Linked DNA regions of Homo sapiens: region 1 is linked to region 2. The links are contacts of gene promoters, found by promoter capture Hi-C in blood cells and fetal thymus (Javierre and others, 2016). All regions are on one chromosome and are shown on one strand. The core of a region is centred on a gene start or on the middle of the fragment in contact, and the rest is flanking DNA. Distances in the headings are between cores, read along the strand shown. Region 1 overlaps SQOR (sulfide quinone oxidoreductase). Region 2 holds the start of GATM (glycine amidinotransferase).

Region 1 (5,608 bases), core at 2,036-4,535, 260 kb before region 2:
CGGATCATGAGGTCAGGAGATTGAGACCATCCTGGCTAACACAGTGAAACCCTATCTGTATTAAAAATACAAAAAATTAGCTGGGCGTGGTGGCACGCACCTGTAGTCCCAGCTACTTGGGAGACTGAAGCAGAAGAATTGCTTGAACCTGGGAGGCGGAGGCTGCAGTGAGCCGAGATCGCACCACTACACTCCAGCCTGGGTGACAGAGCAAGACTCCATCTCAAAAAGAAAAAAGAATGTGTCCACAAGTATTCATTGAGCGCCCACTGTATGTAAGGATGCAAGCTGAGAGACAGCAATTTCTCCAGGCCTGACCCCCTCCCACTCTTTTAGCTAGGGCATTGAGGCTTTACATGGGAAAACAAAGTTCTGGAAAGTGATCGCACAAAGGGGCAGCTTTGAGTAAGAGAATCTTCTGGTGTTGGAACAAATTAACCCTCCTGTTGGAGGAGAAACAAAACCAGTTTCACATGGGCTAATTTTGACAAATCAGTTAGGAGACTATTGGAGTGGTCCAGGTGTGAGCGATAAGCTCCTGAATTAGGTGTTAGCATTAGAAATGCAAACAAAGATTCAGATAAGATAGAGGCTGGGAAGAGAGAATAATTTCGGAAGACGTGGGAAAGGCTTCTGGAAGAAAAAAAAAAGTCAAAGTTGACATCTAGACAGCTGAAGAAAAAGGAATTATGTGAGCAGAAAAAGGGAAGTTATGTCAGGGACCTGTTCGGGCTACTTTTGGACAGTTGGGTTCAAGATTTTGAAAGGAGAATCACTTGCAATGAGAATCTCCTAACGGTGGATATAAAGGAGGGCAGTCTAGCGCTCTGGGAAGAGGGAGAAATGAGATTGGATAGGCATGTGTTACTAAAGTTTAGGTCTGAGAGCTTATTCCCAGACAATGGCAATTTGATCTAGGAGTCACAAAGCAGCAACCTGCAGGCCAAGTGCAGGCCAGAGCTGTGTTTTGCTTGGCTCACAGTGCTTTTCTTGAATTTTGAATTAGTCATCAACATTAAAAAATTTGGAGATCTCGACAAAAAATATTCCAGATTCTTGGCCTCTAACACTAAGCCCACATTCTCACATGGAAACTCTTGGCTGGAGCTGAGCAGTCATTGGTCTTCTCCACCATGCACAAGGTTTCAGTTCACTCCAGCCCCACTCAGCCTATGTTGTTCATTTGTTACCTGCTCAGCCCTGGTGTGCATTTCAGCCTGTGGTTACTGCTAATGGCAGTGAGAGCCCTTGGAAGGTCTTAATAAAACTGGATTTATAAAGAGTCCCCAGGGGAAGCTGAGAGGATGAACTGGAGCAATTCAGTTGAGTTCAGCATTTTTGATTGTTTACTAAATGCCAGGGATTGTGCTAGGCACTGCACAGCCAGTGATGGGTAAGAAGAGTCTGTCTGTTATAACAGGAAAGACCAGGAATATGAAGATCCATTAAGCGGCTGTTTCAGAAATTCAGGCACAGTGAGGGTGGGGTCTGAATGGGAACAGAGATGAGGGGTGTGAATGTGAGACACACATTGACATTTTTGCGACAATCAGCTATAGGGGATAAAGAAGAAGGAAGAATGTGAACGATGACATTATATCCACTTGTTCAGGTGAATATAATGAAGACAGGATGTGAGCAGCAATACTAGAATTACTCAAAGTGGAGTAAAGGTCCAAGGCACTGTGAGGGAGAAGGAAAGCACCCCCCTTGAAAACTGAATGAGTGTTGTTCCGAGAAAGGATAGCAGCTGTGCTCTTCCTCTTGGCACACCTCTGCTTGAGTAATGGCAGTGCTATTCTTGCCTTGTGTGTTCAGGAACTGGATTACTATACTGTTAACAAATAAAGAAAATGGAGCAATCTTCACTTAGCCCTGCAGGGCCATGTTGAAACTCTCCCTCTGGAGCTGTTATAAATCCAAACATTTGTTTAAATATTAAGCTGTGAAGCAAGTACACCAGTAGTGGGCCAGGACTGAGTCACTGGGGAAATAGGAACAATCTATATAGCTCTCTGATGATTCAAGGACTGGGAGCTGCACTGGGGTTCTTTAGTTCCCTCACTCTTCAGGGGCAAAACTGTAGGAATTTTCTTTGCAGAGTTACTGATTAAGAGTTGCTAATGAGGACTTTACAATGAAACAGTGGCTCCCTTTGCTCCTGAGAAATTTCCTACAAATTATCCTGACCTATCCTTATTTTACAATCAGAGAATGCATTGTAACAAGAGAACTGACAATTTCACCAAACCAATACAATTGCTAAGCAGAAAACACAAATTATATTTACATAAGGAAAATGCTTGCATTCAGATTCCAGGAAAGAAAAAATATGTCAGTCAATTGGATTATTTCAAATGAAAGTTAAGAGTTTTGACTGAATTATATAGGGGGAAAAAAAATGAAAGAACACCTTGTTTTTCTGCTTGCTGTAGCCAGTGGGAGCCTGACTTCTCACATTCTAGTACATAAAGAAGCACGACTTAGCTCCCCTTCAACCCCACCACTCATAGTTGGCCTCTGGTCAGGTAATTTTCAGGTTTCCTTTCTAGTCTGTATATGCCTGTGTGTGCCCATCTGCAGACTGTAGGACATGACTCACTGGAAAAAGAAGCCTGAGGTGGAATCAGTGTACTCCCAGTCACACAACAGGGATGAACTTGTTTTCCTGAGTTTGTTAAATGACCACATTAAAATTACTCATCAGCCTCAGGAGCATTGGGATTTCCACTCAGAGTCTCACATGCAAGGAGTTCACTGTAAACGGGACTGGCCATTTCATTCAAGTATATCATTCCTTGGAATCCAGTGTGTGAGGTCTTACCATAATGAGAAAACACTCTTTAATTTCAAGGTATACATTTGCTATTTGGACATAGTTGGAGAGACTCTAAACTCAATCCTTTAATAGTTGAGACAGAATGAGGTGTAGACAGCTCACGTCTCTTCTGTGTCCAGCTAGATGACAATGACCCGTTCCTGGTGAAGCTTTGTCTGAGGGCATATCAAGAGTCAAGAGACCCAGGACCACAGTCCAGGGAGTGCTAGGTACAGCTCTTCCTGACCCATTTTGGGCCATGCTTTCTTCATCAATGGAATAAAGGATCAGATTGGGTGGCATCAAAGGTCCCCTGCTTCTCTAAAACTTTGCTATCCTCTAAATGAGAAAAGGAAAATGGAAGTTCACAAGCAGGCTTTCAAATGGGGACGCTTGTTCTAATAACTCCTTAGATTGATCAGAGATGTGAATTTTTGTGGCAAAGAATAACAAGGCTTTAATAAGCAGGTCTGGAACATAATTAGAATGGAAACCATTCCTCTCAATCTCTCCCCGCAAGTCCCCAAATCATTTGTGGAAGTGTTGATATGTGACAGGCATTGTGCTATGCACTTTACGTAATTACTCACAAAAACCAGAGAGGTGGGAATTATTATTCCCATTTTATAAGTGAGGAAATGGAGATTGTAAGACCATGAGATAGTCATTTACCATTTTGAGTCCATTTCCCTGAGTGTAAAATAAGTGGAGGTGTCTAGTTGCCATTAAAGACCTTTCTTACTCAATGATTCAAAACAAGCTTAGATTTGATCACCTAGACCTTGAAAGGCTCATGATTTTCCTCCAAACTCAGATGGCCCCTCATCCATCTCAAGCATCATTTATGTGCTCACAGAAACACAAAACCACATTTACTAGACCCAGCACTGTCTTGAAGAGCTCTCACAATCTATACTCCAAACATGGTGGTTGTTAAAACACATCATTTTCCTATGGAGACATCATGGGCTACCTTAGAACAAATAGCCAAAGATATAAGAAAGTTATCATAGAGTGAAATCACCACAATCCCCACTTCCAGAAGCAGCCCTCCCTCCCAGAAGTCAGGAATTGGTACCAGGATACAGACATAGCCATTTTCTCTCCATTCATGTAGCTAGGGCCAGAGCTGCTGGTTCCCAGCTAGGTGGCATGAAAGTTCCCTGAGGGCTGGGCTAGGGCCAAAACATGGAGATTCATTATGATCAGAAGGGAGTCACCCCATGGTATTTAAGGATGATCATAACATCATCACCCATCACCCACCATACATTTACAAAGTACTTACTATGTACATGGCACAACAGCTAACCTAGGTCACTTGCTGAAGAGGCCAAGTTTTTCTTTTCCTAACAGTCAAAATCATGAAGCTGAATATGGCTTTAACAACTTCAGGCAAGATCCTAGGGACCACACAGGGTGTCTGTAGAAGGAAAGTACATGGGAGACTCTTCTGCATAGGTTGGGTAAGAGATCCTAAGAGCAAGTGATGGACATGTCGGGATCATGACTTAAAAGAGATGGTGCCTAGTTGTAGCCATTTTTTTTAAACCTATTGTCCATTTGGTAGAACCAGTTGTATTAATTTTCTAGGGCTGCCATAACAAAACACTATAGACTAGATGAAGTCTAGAGAACAGAAATTTATTTTCTCAAAGTTCTGGAGATTGAAAGTCCAAGACCTCAGTGCTGATGAGACTGGTTTCTCCTGGGATCTCTCTCCCTGGTTTGCAGATGGCCACCTTCTCAGTGTGCCTTTGCGTGGCCTTTTCTCTGTGCACATGTGCTCCTGACGAGTCATCTTCTTATAAGGATACTATTCATATTGGATTAGGGCTCCACCTTAATGACCTAACTTAATTTTCCTTTTTTTTTTTTCTTTCTTTCTTTTTTTGAGACAGAGTCTTGCTCTGTTGCGCAGGCTAGAATGCAGTGGCATGATAATCTTGGCTCAATGCAACTTCCTCCTCTCCGGTTCAAGCAAGTCTCATGCCTCAGCCCCCTGAGTAGTTGGAATTACAGGTGCACACTACCCCACCCAGCTAATATTTTGAATTTTTAGTAGAGACGGGGTTCCTCTATGTTGGCCAGGCTGGCCTCAAACTCCCAGCCTCAAGCGATCTGCTTACCTCGGCCTCCCAAAGTGCTGGGATTACAGGCGTGAGCCACCGTGCCTGGCTAATTATTCTTTTATTGAGACAAGGTCTTGCTATGTTGCTCAGGCTAGCCTCGAACTTCTGAGCTCAAGCAGTTCTCCCACCTCAGCCTCCCAAGTAGCTGGGGCTACAGGTGCTCACCACCACTTCTAACTAAGGCACTATCTCCTAATACAGTCACATTCTAAGATCCTGGGGGCTAGGGTTTCAATATATGAATTTGGTGAGTCCATAACACCAGTATTTGCCCTTCCCAAAGTTACAGACATAGATAGTCCCAGTGTGTTCTAAATTTCCGAGGGTTTTTTTGTTCTGTTTTGTTTTTTTCCACAAAGTTCTCTACCTCCTGTCCCAATTTAGCACTTTCTCAATGTAAATCACAGGGATGGTTGGCTAGATCTACTTTTCTTTATTATTATTACCACCTACATCTGGGGATTACAAAGATTTTTAAGGCTGGGATTAAGAAGCAACTAGTTGGCTTCCAGCCAGGTCTGGGCAGCTTTCCATAAGCTATCCAAACTGCTCCTATTTACCAAGTCTTCAGAGTCAAAGAGGAGTTATATAGTAGATAGTGGAGCAGGGAAACGTGAAAGGAGAAGAAAAAAGTACATCTATGCCCAGAAATGCCTTG
Region 2 (5,623 bases), core at 43-2,542:
TTTTGTATTTTTAGTAGACAGGGTTTCATCATGTTGACCAGGATAGTCTCAAACTCCTGACCTCAGGCAATCCGCCTGCCTCGGCCTTCCCAATTGCTGGGATTACAGGCGTGAGCCACTGCACCCGGCCTCATACAGCTCTAATGCCACGCATCAAGTTCTGCATGTACAATCTCTCATTTTGGCCTCTCAGCAACCCCCCATGTGCTAGGGACAGTAAATTCTATTGTTCTCACTTTGCAGATAAGAAGACTGCAATTCAGGAAGACATATAGTAGTCTATAAGTGATTCAGGACTGGAACTCAGTTATCCTAATTCCCTCTCGGAGGCTCTTTCCACCATGCCATCTGCTCGTCTGGTGCTTTCCATCCATGAACTCTGGAAAACAAGCTTGAGATACCAAAATTGAAAAGACAGCTCATCAAAAATGAATAGTTATAATTCTATAAGTACAAAAATGAAATACTCAAATCTCTTGCCCCCCCTCCTGCTAGGAGCATAAATGTTAACCTGAGTTCTCTAGCTCTGTACAAATCCACAGCAATTAAGACTGCACTGTGAGGGAAAATACTTTTCTAAAAAAGAATCCTGATCAAGTTGAAACAAAAATTTTAAAACATGAAATGGAAGGAACGAAACTGTCGTCCTCCCTTATTTCTGACCCACACTTGTCGATTTTCATGACGGAGTTTCTCAAGCCAGGGGCATATGGCCAAAGACCATGTGAAATGCCAGGTGTTCCAAATAACAACCGACGGGGTACTGGAAGGAAAGCACTGCCTCCCCGGGGAACAAATGGCCCAATTTCCAGACTTAGTTTTCTGCAGTCTCAAACCCGATGTTGCACCAAGAAACCACCTAATCTTTAGGTGGTTTCGTTTACCGAAAAATGAGGTGACTGGTTCAGTGCGCATATGTGAATTTAAGGGTAACACTGTACTCACGCTTTGCATATTTAAATTCTCAAATATTCACTTAATATATGCATAGACCATTGTCACTTCGTCAGAAGTCGCGTCCTGCCCAGTTGCGCGAGACTCCAACGGGCCTTCTTGCGACGCTCGGGTCTGGGTCCGGGTCCGGACGTGCAACAGAAGCCGTCAGTGGCCCCGCTGGCTAAAAAAGGGCAAGCATCGGAGGCTCGAGCCAGCGGCCGCGGCGCTTCCCGACAGTTCCTAATTCGGGGCGCTACGCCGGCCCCACCACCTGTTCCCGGCAGCCAATGGGGCCGCGGGGGGCGGCCGGGGCGGAGCGCGGCTACAAAAGGCCTCGGGCCCCGCGCGCCCGCCCACCCCGCTCCGGGCGCGCTCTCGGGAAGGCTTGGACCGACGCGGCCCAGAGGCCAGGAACATTCCGCGCGTGGACCAGCCGGGCCAGGGCGATGCTGCGGGTGCGGTGTCTGCGCGGCGGGAGCCGCGGCGCCGAGGCGGTGCACTACATCGGATCTCGGGTGCGTGCGCCACCGGCCTCGTCTGGCGGCCGCGTGACTCACTCGATCCTGCGGGCGGCGTGGAGCACTCGCTCGCTCCCTGCCCGGAGCCGCCACCTTCCCTCGCTTTCCCTAGCCGGAATTGCACGAGAGTGTCCCTTCTGGTATCCCTGGGAAGCTCAGCTTCAAGAGCCTTCGCAGGCTCCAGGAGCTGGGCGGCGTCCCCCAGTCAGGGGGAACTTGCGTTGCGGCTCCAGCCCTTGGGGTCCACTTGCTGTCTGCGCGTCCGCGGCCTGCTGGCCCACGGCGCAGGGGGCGCCGCCCCCCTCTACCGGACCTTGGTGCGCTGCACCAAGCTTCCCGCTCGGAGCAAGGGGTTGGGACGACGGAGGCTCCTCTTAGTAAAAGGGTGGCGTTATTGGGGTTCAGTAGCCTGAGTGGGCGTCGAGTTGGGGAGATTTCTGGAAAATGCGTGTGGGGTAGATGGATGGGGAGAAGAGGCAAGCAAAGTGGGAATCGGGGACGGGGAGCGAGCGACCAGATTCACTCCAAGTATAACATGGGATCCCACGTCTGGAGAGGAGTCGGGGCGAGTGCAGCCTGTAAGCAGAGTTTCTGCGCTCCCCGCCCTCGGCTGCCCTGGCAGCAGACCCTCCCATGCTTCTAGTACTGGAATCGCTCCGACATTCTGGCTTCCTCCCAGCAACTGGTTCCTGAACAGCTGTCATTCTCCGTCTTTCTTCTGCCTCCACCCGAGTTCTCCTCCTGCCCACTTCCTAAGGCTTTTAACAGAGCAGGATAGAGATTTGGGGGGTTGAGGTTTGCTCAGGGGTTGAGGGACCCTCCCTGCTCTAGATTTTATAGGCCATGCATTTTTAAAAGGCTTTTGAAGTTTTTAGATCTCCTTCTTATTTGTTTGAATTTACGCCTGAGCTAATCCTGACCTTGGCTAGGGTACTGTGGACCATCTGTAAAATGGAGCAGATGGCAGTTGCTCACTCTCAGAATTGAAGTGCCAAAGAATGCGAAGTGTATGTCAAAGATGAAAAAAATTTGATTTGAAGCTGGTTATTCTGAAAGATAAGGTCCTTTACAAATGTTCCCAACTTTTCATTTGTAAAAAAAAATAAATAAAAAGCCTAATATTGGTAACCTTTGATACTTAAGGGAAAAGGAGGTTCCGTCCCCAGCTGAGACTGGCGGGAAGTTTTAGAGCAGCTGTCTATGGTTTTCTGAGAGGAGGACTGACCCATCTGCAAAACAGTTGCTTAAAGCTTGAGTGCAGGAATTGCATTCTGAGATAAAGATGGGGGTGTATGGTAGCTGGGGACACGGTCTTCTGAGGAGTTTTAAAGAGTTACAGCAATTAATAGATAAGAAGACAATTTGTAGATAAACAAGAGGGTTAAAAAAATTATCTGTAATCCCACTACCCACCTACACACTGTTAACGTCTTGGTTTATGCTGTTCTAAAGGGGTTTAAGTGGCAATGTTATGCTGGATTTTTACTCCATCTCCACTTCCTCCTCTCTGTAAGTACTGATAGAGCAATGCAATACAATAATCTTTTCTTTGTTCTTGGAAGCTTGGACGAACCTTGACAGGATGGGTGCAGCGAACTTTCCAGAGCACCCAGGCAGCTACGGCTTCCTCCCGGAACTCCTGTGCAGCTGACGACAAAGCCACTGAGCCTCTGCCCAAGGACTGCCCTGTCTCTTCTTACAACGAATGGGACCCCTTAGAGGAAGTGATAGTGGGCAGAGCAGAAAACGCCTGTGTTCCACCGTTCACCATCGAGGTGAAGGTAAAGGAAGGCTATTCACATGTCTGAAAGTGCGCTCCCTCCTCACCTGCTGCTGCTACCCTCTGACTGCTTTCCCTTCAGCTTACTCCCAGACCTCTCAATCCAGTGATTAAGTTATCTTACTTGACACCTCTGTGGTATTTGACACTATTTACACCAATGATAATTGCTTCCTTCCTGAAGAGCTTCCTGAAGCTCTTCCCTTGGATTCTGAGAGAGCTTTTCTGGGAATAATAGTTCTTTCACTGTCCTCAGATCTTCTTCCGTCACAGCCTGTAATGGCAAGGTTGAACAGAATATTACTTTCAGCCCCCTTCTCTTAGCCATTCTCACAGCTACCGCTCCCACCTCCTCTCTGGTCCGGATCTCTGTATTGAACTCCTTCCAGATCAACGAGTTAAACTCCTTACGGGATATTGCCACAGGACTTCAAACTTGGCACATCTGGAGTTCAGTTGCCAGCCACCTGCTCAAGTGGATCCCTCCTCATTCCTGCCTTTTAATTATTGGCATTCCTATTTAATCAAGCTAAAACACAAAAGAATCATCTTTGATTTCTCCTTATGTCACGTGATGTAACAAGGCTTTTGTCAAAAATGAATCTTGCCTCATTCCTCTGCTTTGCCTCTCCCTAAAGGTTGGGAGCTCATCTGCTGCCTGGACTATTGCAGTTAACTCCTAACTGGTCACTCCTACTCACTCTTCTCACCAAATCACCTGGCAGCTGCAATCCAAGTGATTTTTTAAAACTCAGATGTGATCATGTTACTCATCCTGCTTCTTTTCCTCCTGTACTTTGCTAGGCGACCCCCACTACCCCACCACCCCCCGCATTGTTTAGGATAAAGTCTTCATGGTATTCAAGATCCTTCACAATCTGACTCTTGTCTGCATTTCCAGGATTCCCCATTCCAGTTATTGACTCATCTGTTAGTACAGCAGATTAGCAGGTGTTCATTTCTGGTCAAGTCCCTCTATCCTCTAATATTCCACCCTGGTTTTCAGCAGACTTTATAAGACAACCATATAAGGCAGCTAAGCTAGACTACTCACTGTTTCTTCACAAGCCCTGCATCTTTGCCCCTACCTAAGTCTCTTCCATCCATCTTCCTGTGCCCTTTAGTCTGTAGTTTAAACCTACCACCACCTAGCTTCAATGACACCTTTCACAAAGTCTTCCAGGATTTCCCTGGCAACAAGTAATATCTCTCTTTTTAAAAACTCCTAGTGGTGGCCAGGCGCGGTGGCTCACACCTGTAATCCCAACACTTTGGGAGGCTGAGGCGGGTGGATCACGAGGTCAGGAGATCGAGACCATCCTGGCTAACACGGTGAAACCCCGTCTCCACTAAAAATACAAAAATTAGCCAGGCGTGGTGGCGGGTGCCTGTAGTCCCAGCTACTTGGGAGGCTGAGGCAGGAGAATGGCATGAACCCAGGAGGCAGAGGTTGCCGTGAGCTGAGATGGCGCCATTACACTCCAGCCTGAGCAACAGAGTGAGACTCCATCTCAAAAACAAACAAACAAACAAAAACTCCTAGTGGTTTTTATCTGTAACGTTCTTATATCCAGGGCCTCTATGGGCTGGTGTTCAGGTTCTATACTGCATAAGGATTCCATATCTAAGGGACCACTTTCCACATTGTAGACACAGCCTAGACTCCTATTAATAATGGGTTACAAATGTATCTTTAGTGTCCTTAAATTTTTCCTGAATATTTACACTTTTATTTGTAAAGTGGATTGAGGAAAGAAGTTCTGTAACAGCATTGTCGTGGTCTTCAGAAATATTGCCTACCATGTACCAGGGCTCTAGAGGTATTAATATAAAAGATCTTCCTTTCTATTTGAAGAGATTTGATGTTCACATAGAAACGAAGACCAAGTATCTTATTCCAGTCGACTGACAAGGCAGTTGAAGTGCCAGGAAAGAGGAATGACCAAGGGCTGGCCAGTTAAGAAGTCCTCTTGAAGAAAATGACTCCTGAGTTAGACTTGGAAGACAGGGAAATAGAAAAAGTAATAACTTCTAATTGTTCTGAAACTATCTTTGGTTCTGATATTTGGAATTTGATGAGAAGATTAATTTATACACCATCCACATGTTTTTAAAAGGCATAGTAGTCTTTTTAAGTCTTTTCTTGAAAAGTCCCATCCCCTAACCATTTTAATTGGGTGAAATTAAAATTTAAATCCAAGCAATAATTTATCCTTCTACTTGTCTTTAAAATGATAGACTTTCATATCATGCGATTTTACAGAATCAGAATTCTCAGAGGTAATTTTGAGTTCTTTGTCACTTGATTTATGACTTTAGACTTTGTCATTTCATGGACTTGTGGAAAAAGTACCATGCTGAAGTCAGGAGTCTGGGATTAATTAGGTAT

What was found. Contacts are between HindIII fragments. The CHiCAGO score rates a contact against its expected background, and 5 or more counts as called.
Region 1: a contact is called between a fragment that was not itself captured here and the fragment with the promoter of GATM in region 2, in 1 of 17 cell types (monocytes). The highest score is 6.8, in monocytes.

What each region holds. Positions count from the first base shown.
Region 1 is chr15:45,637,831-45,643,438 of GRCh38, reverse strand. The region is part of intron 1 of SQOR (sulfide quinone oxidoreductase); the gene reads right to left. Among named protein-coding and RNA genes, the nearest start is that of SQOR, 5.6 kb to the right of the region's middle. RefSeq lists an enhancer at 1,602-1,651. The HindIII fragment of the contact is 590 bases long and covers 2,991-3,580 here.
Region 2 is chr15:45,374,213-45,379,835 of GRCh38, reverse strand. GATM (glycine amidinotransferase) reads left to right here and starts at 1,292. Exons shown (of 9, transcript NM_001482.3): 1 at 1,292-1,451; 2 at 3,017-3,235. The coding sequence starts at 1,383. RefSeq lists an enhancer at 944-1,023 and a silencer at 1,164-1,493. The HindIII fragment of the contact is 1,395 bases long and covers 394-1,788 here.